Linked DNA regions of Homo sapiens: region 2 is linked to region 1. The links are contacts of gene promoters, found by promoter capture Hi-C in human tissues and cell types (Jung and others, 2019). All regions are on one chromosome and are shown on one strand. Each heading gives the region's core, a stretch centred on a gene start or on the middle of the fragment in contact. The rest is flanking DNA. Distances are from core to core; before and after follow the strand shown.

What was found. Contacts are between HindIII fragments. The study calls those that stand out against the background at their distance.
Region 2: a fragment that was not itself captured here is called in contact with the fragment with the promoter of MYOZ3 in region 1 in 1 of the 25 tissues and cell types used here (spleen).

Annotation. Positions count from the first base shown.
Region 1 is chr5:150,658,179-150,664,026 of GRCh38, reverse strand. MYOZ3 (myozenin 3) reads right to left here and starts at 2,776. Exons shown (of 7, transcript NM_001122853.3): 1 at 2,600-2,776; 2 at 1,025-1,086. The coding sequence starts at 1,085. It overlaps SYNPO (synaptopodin), which reads right to left. Exons shown (of 3, transcript NM_007286.6): 3 at 4,820-5,848. The HindIII fragment of the contact is 3,368 bases long and covers 421-3,788 here.
Region 2 is chr5:150,341,401-150,347,364 of GRCh38, reverse strand. No RefSeq gene overlaps it. Among named protein-coding and RNA genes, the nearest start is that of TCOF1, 13 kb to the left of the region's middle. The HindIII fragment of the contact is 4,296 bases long and covers 54-4,349 here.

The sequences.
Region 1 (5,848 bases), core at 1,527-4,026:
TTAATTTTTTTCTTTTTCTTTTTTTTTTTTTTTAGAGACAGAGTCTCCCTCTGTCACCCAGGCTGGAGTGCAGTGGCACAACCGTAGCTCACTATAGCCTCCAACTCCTAGGCTCAAACGATCCTCTTGCCTCAGCCTCCTGAGTAGCTGGGACCACAGGCATGTGCCACCATGCCTGGCTAATTTTTTTTTTTTGTAGAGATGGAGTCTCACCATGTTGCCCCGGCTGGTCTCAAACTCCTGGGCTCAAGCAATTCTTCCACCTCAGCCTCCCAAAGTGCTGGGATTAAAGGCATCAGCCTCTGTGTCCAGCCCCTAAATTAATTTTTAAAATACCTGAAATCCTCTAAAGTAGACCAAATAAACAGATTCCAAAATTGTATCAAGAGTTCCTCAAGAGGTCTTCTAAAATTGATAAAAATGAATTTAAACTTTTTTAATGAAATGATAAAAATGATTTACTCATTTGATGAATCAGCTTTAAGTAGAAAGTTTTGTATTCAAATGGGCAGCCTGCTCTTCCCACCCTGCTCCACTCTCTCGACTCCCCTGTCTTCCCACCCTACTCCACTCTCTCCACTCCCCTCTCTTAGCCATGGGGCCCAGCCATCCTGGGCCACCCAGAGGCCTCGGTGAGACCCACAGGAGTAATAGGCAAAGGCAAGTGTGTGCAGAGCTTGCAGCCACAGGTAGGGCTGGAGTTGGGACCAGAGTCTTCAGAGCTTAATTTGGGGCTGAGGTGAGGCCTTAGATGAAGCCAGGGCCAGGGTCATTTTAGAGCCAAGGCCCAGCCTGGGACACTCAGCCTCAGCTCCTGGGTCTGTGGACAGATGGGCAAGACCCCTCCCAGTGCCTCAGGGAAGCTTCCCAGCCTAGGCAGCAAATTCTACAGGCACTCCCTCAGAGCTGGCCTGGAGCTCACACCTGTCTGCCCAGGCCTGGGGCCAGCAGGCCAGAGTGAGTGCAGCCTGGGAGCAAGGAAATGATGGAGTCTGAGGAAGGCATGAGGCTAGAACCACCTTACCTGGTTCAGTGAGGTCCCCCATGGCAGCCATCACTGGCCCCTTCTGCTCCTTGGGGATCATCCTGTGGAGGAGAGACCCCCATAAATGGACCAGGCTGCCTCCATTTCTCCCCAGACCTCCTTCCAGTCTCTGGTTCACCCTGCCCCAGTCCTGAACAGCTTTAGGCCAGCCCCAAATCACAAGCAAGGGATGTCTGAGCTGGAAGGGACTTCAGGGTCTCCGTGCAGAGGAGACTGAGGCCCAGGGAACGAGAGGGAGGTGCTCAAGTTTGCACGAATCTATTTTCATGTTGCTAGGGAAGCACTGTCTCTTCAGGGGTGGTTTCTAGGGCCTTTTCCCAGCTCTGGCATCCTGATCAGAGGGAGAGTAGGTGCCAGGGGCATCCGGGTGGGGCAGGCAAAGGTCTCAGGCACTACTGTCATCGGTTGACCCAGGAGAGTCCTAGTCCAAGGCTGAAAGAAGTTGGAGGTTTAAGTTAGGGGAAGGGGGAGGATGGACTAGGTTGGGGTTACACTGGGGTCTGCAAGGCTGGTGAGCCCCTTTCATCCTTGGCACTTGGCCCTGACGCTTGAGGGCACAGGCTGGTCCAACCAAGCAGAGAGAACCATCCCCCGTCCTCCCCATCTCCCCGCTACTGGGCTAACTTCCGTGGTGTTCTCTTCTCCCTCGTCCCTTCTCTTCCTCCTGTTCCATCCCCCTATTTGTATCTCATGGCACTTTCAAAGAATCTTGGAAGAGATTTGCAAATAAAATGAGGTCCAGAGCCCTTAACTTGCCCAGGTACCTTAACTTGCCCTCTGGAGAAGAGGCAGAGCCCTTGAGCTCCTCGACTGACCACCCACCTGGGTACCCTTCTCCTTTGCCTCCAGGTTTTCCTATACTCCTTCCTTTAGAAAACAATCTGCCTTCATCTGTATCCCCAACACCGACAAGGGGCCCTGGGAGTCAGTGGGCACTGCATTGTGCAACTGGAGTCTAGTGGGTGTCCCTGGCTTTCTCTGTAACTGCGAACAAGTAGCTTTCCAGCTCTGCACCTCAGTTCCCCCATCTGTAACAGTAGGGGGTTAGGCTAAATCACAGAGATCCATGGATGGGCTTTAGGGTGTTCACAAACCCCCTAAAACTATACGTAAACATGAGTGTGTCTACATGCATTTGGGGTGAGGGTCATGGGATGATTGAGAATGCCTCGATCACAACCGTTTAGGATTCCACAGTCCACAGATCTGTTTCTTGATAAACACTCCCTTTACAGAAATTCACAGATGCTGGGAAGGGTCTCTCATTTTACAGAGAAGCTGCTTCCCTCTACTGCCTAAAAATCCCAAAGTCCTGAGCAGAGCCATTACCTATTCCCCACCTTTAATCCTAGCCACACCCTCCCCATTTAATGCAGGGTAACCTAGAGCTTAGAGTTCCTCTCCTCCCAAACCAGGATCGAGGCTTGCATGGGGCCCCAAACTCCCTAGATCCACTGCAGGGCCCTTCCTCTCCGGGGGAAGGAGCTCTGGGGATTGGCTCACCTCCTCTGCCCACTCCCCTGAGTTCCCCAAGCTCCCCTAGGATGCTGGTACCTGAGAGGATGGGACCACAATAGGCAGGAGGGAATCTTAGACCCTCAAGATTAACACCTCTGTCGGGAAGCTGAGAGTTGCGTGGCGTCCCTGTAGGCAGTCAGCGGTCAGCAGTCAGTAGGCAGCGAGCAGGGTGTCCCCTGCAGCCAGCTCTGGCTTCAGCTGATGAGAATCATTCCTGCCTTGCCATGGGTCACAGCCTTATTTCGGGCTGCAATAGGAGCTGGAGCCAGAGGCTAAAAGCACCAGACCCTAGGGAAGACAGGTGCCCTGGCAACAGGCCTGTGCAGACAGAGGGCTTGCACCCACGTGTACACACACACTCACATATGCACACACCAAAGTCACCTGGAAATGTTGAGGGTCAGCTGCTGGTAGCTTCCGCTTGTTAACTGTTATATCCTTAGTGCCAAGAATGGTGCTTGATAGGAACTCAGCAGATATTTGTCGAAGGAAGGAATGGATGGATAGATAGATGGATGAATGAATTGCTCCTCAATATCTTTGCTTGACTTATCCTTTTCTTCCTTCCTTTCTTCTCTCCTGCCTTTCTTCTTCTGCCTCCTTCCTGCCTGCCTTCTTTTCTCCCCTCCTCCCTCCCTCCCTCCCTCCCTCTACCTTCTCACATTCCCTGAGCCTCTCTCTAAGGACTGAAAATAAATAAGGCAGGGCTCTGTCTTCAAGGAGCTCAGCCAGGTCAGATTCAGACGGGTAAACAAGCTTTGGGGAAGGCTCTGGGAGAGCCCAGGGGAGGGAGTTACCAGCTCAGCCTGGGGTGGGGGGTGAGAAGGCTTCCCAGAGGAGGACACACTGGAGTTGGGCCTTGAAGGATGAGTGGGAGTTCACTGGGCAGAGAAGGGGCATGGCAGGCAGTGGACATGTCACCTACAAAGATGGGTAGGGGGTTGGCAAGTAGAGCCGGAGCTGGGGGCAGTGCTGAGAGATTAGCCCAGACAGTGGGGGCAGCGGCCAGATCCCAGCAGGCTTTCAAAAGGAAACTGTGTTTATAAAGGGTTGCTGACAAGATTAAAGTGGTGAAATGGAGTGATCGGATTGGCATTTTCCAAAGATATCTTTGCTGCCATGTGGGAAATGGGTTGGAGGGGGCCAGACTGGAGGCAGGAGGACCTGACTGTCACCAGGGGTGGCTGGATCAGGGCAGTGACAAGGAGATGGAGAGGAGAGGGAGTTGAGGGTTATTTGAAGAACCCTTGGGTCTTGGTGAGGAACTGGATGTGGAAGGTGAGGAAAGGGAGTCCCACTCCCCTGTTTCATGCTTGGGTGACTGGAAGGGGAGGAGCAGGAGGGGTGGGGGCAGACACTGAGGTCAGTTTTGGATGAACTTTGAGGTGTCGGGGGACTGGGATGAGATCACCAGTAGGCAATGGGACACTGTGCTGCAGTGAGGCCCCAGCCGAAGATAAAGATTGGGTCCAAGGCACACACTCCTGGGGAAGGGTGGGCCTAGCAAGGATGGGCTGGGTGCAGGGTGGGGACCACCGGTGTCTGTGTGCTGGCAGACTATCCTGGGGTGTATTTCTGACACCTCTCAAATCAGAAGCCTAGATTCTGCTGTCCACCACCCTGACCTTAGCTTCCTGGCCCTCGGTGGGCCTGAGCTTCTAGAGAGGAAGAGTGAGGTGTGTTCCCAGGGCAAGCTTAGCCTCACCTGGGAGCAGGATCACAATCCCCTTCTCTGGCCAAAGGACACTCCTGCCAGGAGAGGATGCCTCATGGCCCGAGTCCTTGCCTCACTGGGGCTGCCTGGCTCAGACGGGACCTCTTACAGTGGCGCCTTTCCTGCCCTGGCACCCCCACCTGCCATGAGGAAACAGCCTCAGAGCACAGAGCCCTGACCCAGCTTGGCCCTGCCCACTCTGGTGATAGTGCTCTGTGGTCAGGGCCTGGACAATACCACCCTGAGACATTACCTAGACCCACTCTCCCCATTATACGGATGGGGAAGCTGAGGCCTAGAGAAGGAGTGGGCTCACCCAGGGTCACCCCGCTCGTCCATGACAGGACCAGGACTGCAGTCCAGGTACTTCTATGGCCTCAAGTTGTCCGTTGTTCCCATCTCTCCCCATGGCTGCTTCTTCCCAAGCTCCCATCCCATATGTCTCAAATATTCCCAGCCACCCAGAGTCCCATGGACTGCTCCATGCTTGGGGAGAAGGGAAGGACATCAGACACAGCTGAAAATGACACAGGAGGCAGAAGAATGCAGGAAGCATTTATTGAGGGCCAGAGCTGCATTCTACAAGAGGCAAGAGGCAGGACACAGGCAATCTCTAGTGGGTTAGAGGAGAGGTTGGGGAGAGGGCAGTGACAATGAGAGAACAGCCAGGCGCTGGCTTGGGAACTGCCGGTTTCTCAAGGCTGCCTCCTGCTAGTCCTCTGGGAAATGCAGGTAGAAATGGATCCTCTATGCTACTGCCTCAGCCAGAGGCCTGATGGTGTCCCTTCCCTGGGAGGGGCCCTTAGCCCCAGTCTCCTGTGCTACAAGGGACCCAGCAGCAGGTAGGGGCTTTGGTAAATATAGTCACTCATCATTAACTGAGTAAGAGCACCTTCTCATCTTCACAGCAGCAGGAGCATTCCTGAGGCCCAAGGAGCCCTCTAAGGTCACTCTTTCATTCCAAAGCACCCTGTCCCAACCCTATCTTCCATACTGACCTTAACTCCCTCCAGCCTCACTTGGGGGTTCCAGATCTAACATCACCCCGGTAAGTCCCAAACCCAAACTGTCCCTCACCTTTAGCAACATCCTGGTATCCTTTCACCTACATACGTTTGATCCTCAGCCAATTCCATACCCCCAGCTGATCCTGAAGCTAATATTCTGAACCTCTAGAAGGCTCTACCAGCCAACTCTGGAAACTACAGAACTCAGCCATATTCCTCCCTGAGTCCCCCCTGGGGACCTGAATCACAGCCACCAAGGTTTAGGGAACCAGTGAGGGCCTGCAGCCAGGCTCCCCCAGGTCACTGGGCACCAGGCACTAGCTAGGTCAGAGTGCACTGGGGAAGGGATGGGGCAGGATAATGTCTACTTTTCTGGGCACGATATGGACACTGGGACTGAGGTCTGACACTGAAGAAGGGGACATTTCCAAGGGGACCAGAAATACAGGCAGACCCTAACTTAACACCCTGCTCACGTACCCAAGCTCATCGGCCCCTAAATTCAAGCCCAACTAGCCCACCACCACCACCCACCCCCGACTTCCTAATATCATGGAATGCATT
Region 2 (5,964 bases), core at 952-3,451, 320 kb after region 1:
AGTCATTTTACCTTTGGGTTTCAGCTTCTTTACTTGTAAAATAGGGAAGAGAACTGTCTTGAGCTCTCAGGGGTGTTATGAGGCTGGAGGAAGCAGGTCAAGGCACAGTGGGAAGTCTTGAAATCCCCCAGGGAGAGGGAGGACTCACTGAGAAAAGCCTCAGAAGACGCTGCTCCCTGAGAGCCATCCAGTGTGAATGTCCTAATCTTGCCTGGCCCCAAGATTACAGTCTCTTCAAATCTAACTTTGCATCTGCAAGTGGAGCTGAGTCTCTGGAGGAGCTGGGACATGCGAGACATGAGACACCAGTCTCCCTCCTTTTCCCTCCCACCCATGGCCCTGGGTTCTGAGCTGTTCCTGGGGCCATGCTTGGTGACTCTGGAAGCAGGAACTTATGGAAGTGGCATACGTGATGTCTCAAGAAAACCGGAAGAGGACGGAGGATGTATCCCATGGCCTCCATACACCATGGCCACTCAAAGCTGCCCAGTCACCCTCGCAGCAGGGTGGGGAGGGCATCTGAGGGCTCCAAGAGAATATTTGTCTGGGGAAAGAAAAGGACACACGTGCCTGGTGACTCTCACTCATATGTGACCACGTGCCAGCCCACACAAACAGGTCTCTTGAGGCCATGGCAGGGGGCTACCCCATCACCTCTGAGCAGTTCAATCCTGGGCACAGCATACACAGGAACAGGTTTGGAGGGGAGGTGGGCAGAGGCCTCTGGGTCCAGCAGCCTCTTGGACAAGGCCATAGAACCCATGGCAAATAGGTCTGGATGATGCCTCCTTCTTCGTCCCACTTACTGACCGCGAGTCACCCCACCATCACCACCTCTGAAAGGTCAGCCTGCTCACACGGCCAGAGCACTGGATTCCAGTGGAGAATGTAGTTCAAAAACTGAAACCTGTTTTTGGAGAAGATGATGTATACACATGATGCAAACGTGTAAAGGTATGCAAAGGGTACCGAGAAAAGTAAATCTCCTGGGCTCCCATCCTCTGTTCCCCAGCTTCTCGGTTCTCTTCCCAGGAGGATGCAATATTACCAGGGCTTAGATATGACTGCATACACACACACACACACACACACACACACACACACACACACACACAGAGGCACACAATATTGATAGTAGTACATTATATACACCAAGGTAAACCTTGCTTATTTTTTCACCCCATCTTCTCTCCCACAAATGTGGACCTGGAATGTAACAGGCGAGAGTGAATGCAGAACGGATGCATTAGTGGATGAGGTGGTGGAAGGATGAACAATGTCCGTCCAGGTGCAGGCTTTTTCTACTCTGTGTTTTGAGACTCATCCTGTCCCTGAGAGGATCTCTCTCCTTTGGCCCATTGCTGCAGGTGGGTAAATTCAGGCCTTCTTGACCCTGGCACAGAGCCATAATGGGGGAACTAAGTGAACCAGGCAGCTGAACAGCTTAATTGTCATTTCCACCAGCAGATGGTTACCAGGGAAACTCAAAGAATGTTAGAACAGGGACGGGTTTTCAGGCAATGTGGAGGCAGCCTGACAGAATCTCAGAATGGGAAAGGGGACGGTTCCGACAAGTTCTTCAAGAGTTTGATTTTTAATTTTCATTTCAATGATAATCTAAAATAATTAAAGATTTTAACCGGATGCAGTGGCTCATGCCTGTAATCCTAGCACCTTGGGAGGCCAAGGCGGGTGGATTGCCTGAGCTCAGGAGTTTGAGACCAGCCTGGGCAACCCGGTGAAACCCTGTCTCTACTAAAATACAAAAAATTAGCTGGTGTGGCAGTGCGCATCTGCAATCCCAGCTACTCGGGAGGCTGAGGCAGGAGAATTGCTCGAACCCAGGAGGTGGAGGTTGCAGTAAGCTGAGATTGCACCACTGCACTCCAGCCTGGGAGACAGAGTGAGACTCGATCTCTAAAAAAAAAAAAAAAAGAAAAATTTTAGGCCAGGCACAGTGGCTCACGCCTACAATCCCAGCACTTTGGAAGGCTGAGGCGGGTGGATCACCTGAGGTCAGGAGTCCGAGACTAGCCTGACCAACGTGGTGAAACCTGCCTCTACTAAAAATACAAAATTAGCTGGGTGTGGTGGCAGCGCCTGTAATCCCAGCTACTTGGGAGGCTGAGGCAGGAGAATCGCTCTAACCCGGGAGGTGGAGGTTGCAGTGAGCTGAGATTGCACCATTGCACTCCAGCCTGAGCAATGAGAACGAAACTCTGTCTCAAAAAAAAAATTATATTTTTCGATAATTTGAACATCTGCCTTATAACATTGTATGGACAAGTGATTTCAATGCTGTGTTGATGTTTGCCTTTGTGATCACACTGGCGCTGGGGTAATCAATGACTTTACAGCCACCTGAATAAACCAAGATTTTGCTGTAAATCAAACTTAGAAGGTTCTTAAATTTGTGTCTGCAGACTCCTAAGATTTCTGGGCATATTCTTGGGCCAGTGAGAATTATTTTGGAGGCATCTGTATGTTACTCAAGTATGAGAAACCCTGGTGAGGACAAAAGGACCCCAGGCAAGAGTTGGAAGCTTGGATTCGGCTCCTGTCTCTGCCTCTTCTTATCAATTGGGTCACTTGGACTCTTCTGTCTCTTCTGCTTTAATTTTTCCACCAGTAAAATAGGATCAAAATGCCTTCTTCACAGCATATTAAGAACACAAAATGAGGTAGTGAATGTGAAAGTTCTGACTTTGTAAGCATCAAGCATTTCATCTTATAAAGGAGGGAAACAAGACTTGAAGAGGTGAAATGACATCTCTGTTATCAAACCATCATCGGCAGAGCTGGGCTGGGAGCTTGGGCTTCTAACCCTCAGTTGCCCTGGGCACGTTGGCCACTAGCAGTAATGGTGTGACTAATTCTGGAAAGCGTAATAACATCTCAGGTGGGGCCTTTTGCTATTTGGGCAAACATGCTATCTTTATTTTTATTTGTTGAGAAGATTAAATTAGGGAAGCCAAACAAATAAATAAGCACATTGAATTTCCCACAGCTATACCTCTCTTCCTGGAGCAAAAACAAACTCTTTCCTCAGGCAGAAGGTCAGACAGGAGGCATGTGGGGACAAAACACCCAGGTACTTCAGTGTCAGCCTCCTGGATTTGCTGTTTTGCTGGGTTGAAGGGCCACTGAGCCAGGCGTGTGGGCTTCATGTCAGCACCCAGCTGCTCTGAGGAATGTGTTTCAAGGTTGGGGGCACCCAGGGCAGGCTGAGAGTTCCAGAAAGCAGGGACTTTGTGTGGCTACTGCTGTTTCTCCCAAGCTCAGCTCGGTGCCTTGCACATATGGGTGTGCAATCAATATTTAAAGAATAAGGCCGGATGCCGTGGCTCATGCCTGTAATCTTAACACTTTGGGAAGCCGAGGGGAGTGGATTGCCTGAGCTCAGGAGTTCGAGACAAGCCTGGGCAACATGGTGAAACCCAATCTCTACTAAAAATACAAAAAATTAGCCGGGTGTGGTGGCACATGCCTGTAATCCCAGCTACTCGGGAGGCTGAGGTAGGAGAATTGCTTGAACCCGGGAGGTGAAGGTTGCAATGAGCCAAGATCGTGCTGTTGCACTCCAACCTGGGGGGACAGAGCGAGACTCCATCTCAAAAACAAAACAAAACAAAACAAAAAACAAAACATAGGAATAATGGAAGGAAGGAATGAATGACTAGAGTCACAGTCTTTGTGTTAAAATATTTGGAGTGGTCTCAGAGAAGATGTATCTTGCAAGTCCAGGTTCAAAATCAGGAGATCAGGAAACAAGGGATCTCAGGGCAAAATGGTCTTCTGGCCTGGATTTCAGGAATCAGGGAGGTAAGTAGGAAGTGAGGCTCAGTGCAGAGGCTGAAGTCAGTCACAGTGGATCGACTGACTGCTTTGCTGTATCAGTCTGTTCACTGAGCGTCTTCCTCTGTGTCAGGCTCTGTGCCAGTTGCTGGGGATCCCAAGTGAAAAAGGCCCACATGCCAAGAACTCCCACCTATGGTAATGTGCCCCTACTAGTGAAGAAGAGTTTGGACTTTGAAATCACAAAGACATGGGCTCAAACCCCAGCTCTACGATGTATGACGTTGGGCAAGTTATAGTACTTCTCTACGTTTCAGTTTCCTTACCTGTAAAATGGGATTAAGAATGCTAACTGCTACCTTGAATGGTAAATAAGATACAACCCTAAGGCACAGAGTGAGCATGACCATCTGCCTGGGCTTGGATCCCACTAGAAAATGAGCCTATCTCAGGTCATGAGGTCAGGAGTTCAAGATCAGCCTGGCCAACATAGTGAAACCCTGTCTCTACTAAAAATACAAAAATTAGCCAGATGTGTAGTCCTGTAGTCCTGTAGCCAGACCTGTAGTCCCAGCTACTCGGGAGGCTGAGGCAGGAGAATCGCTTGAACCCGGGAGGTGGAGGCTGCAGTGAGCCGAGACCTCACCATTGCACTCTGGCCTGGGCAGCACAGCAAGACTCTGTCTCAAAAAAAAAAAAAAAAAGAGCCCATCTCTTCTGTCTGCCCTGAACCCTGCAGGAGCTTCTTTGAGCTGACAGAAGGAAGTGGCTTGGTTGGGCATCTCCCTTGCATGGACCTGAGGTTATTTATAGTTGTTTGGTTATTGTGGTTGTTGTGGTTATTGTTGTTTCTATTAAGAAGATTGATTCTACGAATAACCTTGTGCATTTCTCTTGGTGCATGTGAGCAAGGGTTTCTCTAGGGTGGACACAATAAAAATAAACAACTGGAGAGGTGAGGGCACTGAGCAATCAGAATGGACGCTGTGGAGCTGGAATGTGGTCCTGGGGGTAGTCTATGGGGTATTAACATTTTAGTTGTTGGATCATGGGGAGTTTGGGTGGATACCTAAAGGAAAGGCTGGGGGCAGCTGGATCACAGGTGGTCACAGGTAAATGGGTGGGGGAGACTTGGAATAGTAGCTATTTACCAACTGGCATGGAAGAATTTCAAGATTCTATCAACCAGTGTGTTCACAATGGTAAGCATGGGTGTGTATGTGCTTGGGAGTATATGTTGCCTAGGAGGGGAACTGTGAGACTGCAGGGAAAGTGATCGATCAGCTTTACAAGATCATACTGGAATGATTTTCCAAGTCACTTATTCCCATAGACATTCCTCCCAGCAGTGTATAAGCATCTGGTTGATCCACATCCTTGCCAACACTTGGTATTGTCAGGCTCTTTAATTACTTGCCAATCCAGTGGGTGTAAAAGGATGTCATAATGGTCTCAATTTGCATCTCTCTGAATTCTAATAAGGTTGAATATCTTTTCATATGTTTATGGGCCTAGAGCTGTTTGCTTGAAAGTCCTGGGTCCTATATATATTAAATATGTGCAGTTTTTGTTTATCAACTACACCTTAATAAAGCCATTAACACACACACACACACAGACACACACACACACACACACACACACACCACAAAGGCCTGTAATTTTATCCCTAATACAATGGCTAACAGTTAATAGGTGCTCAATAATATTGAATTAAAAAAAAGGGGAGCCTGGTTCCCTCACACCACAGTGAACATTCCACTAAATGCCTTGGACAGCAGCCAGGTAGAGCGGTAAGAGCACAGGACAGGGAGCAAGGATACCTGGGTTCCAGCCTCAGGATGACCACACCATAACTCTGTGGCCTTAGGCAAGGCGCATTGTGTTTTCTGACCTTCACATTTAGAATTGGCCAAGTTGAGGAGAGGCTTAGTCTGCTCACAGGGAGGGCAGTTAAGGGATCAAGTGAGATTATGAAAATCGATGTGTTTTGGGGACTGAAAAGTCCTGCACCAGTCAGGGATTAGTGTTCCCTCTCTGAAGACAATTTAAGAGGCTCTGGAGCGCAAGGGAGCAGGAGCAGCCAGCCAACCTCCAGCAGGCAAAGAGCATCAGCACCAAGGCTTAAATGCACATCTTCTTCCTTTACACAGCCCTCACCTCCAGGCA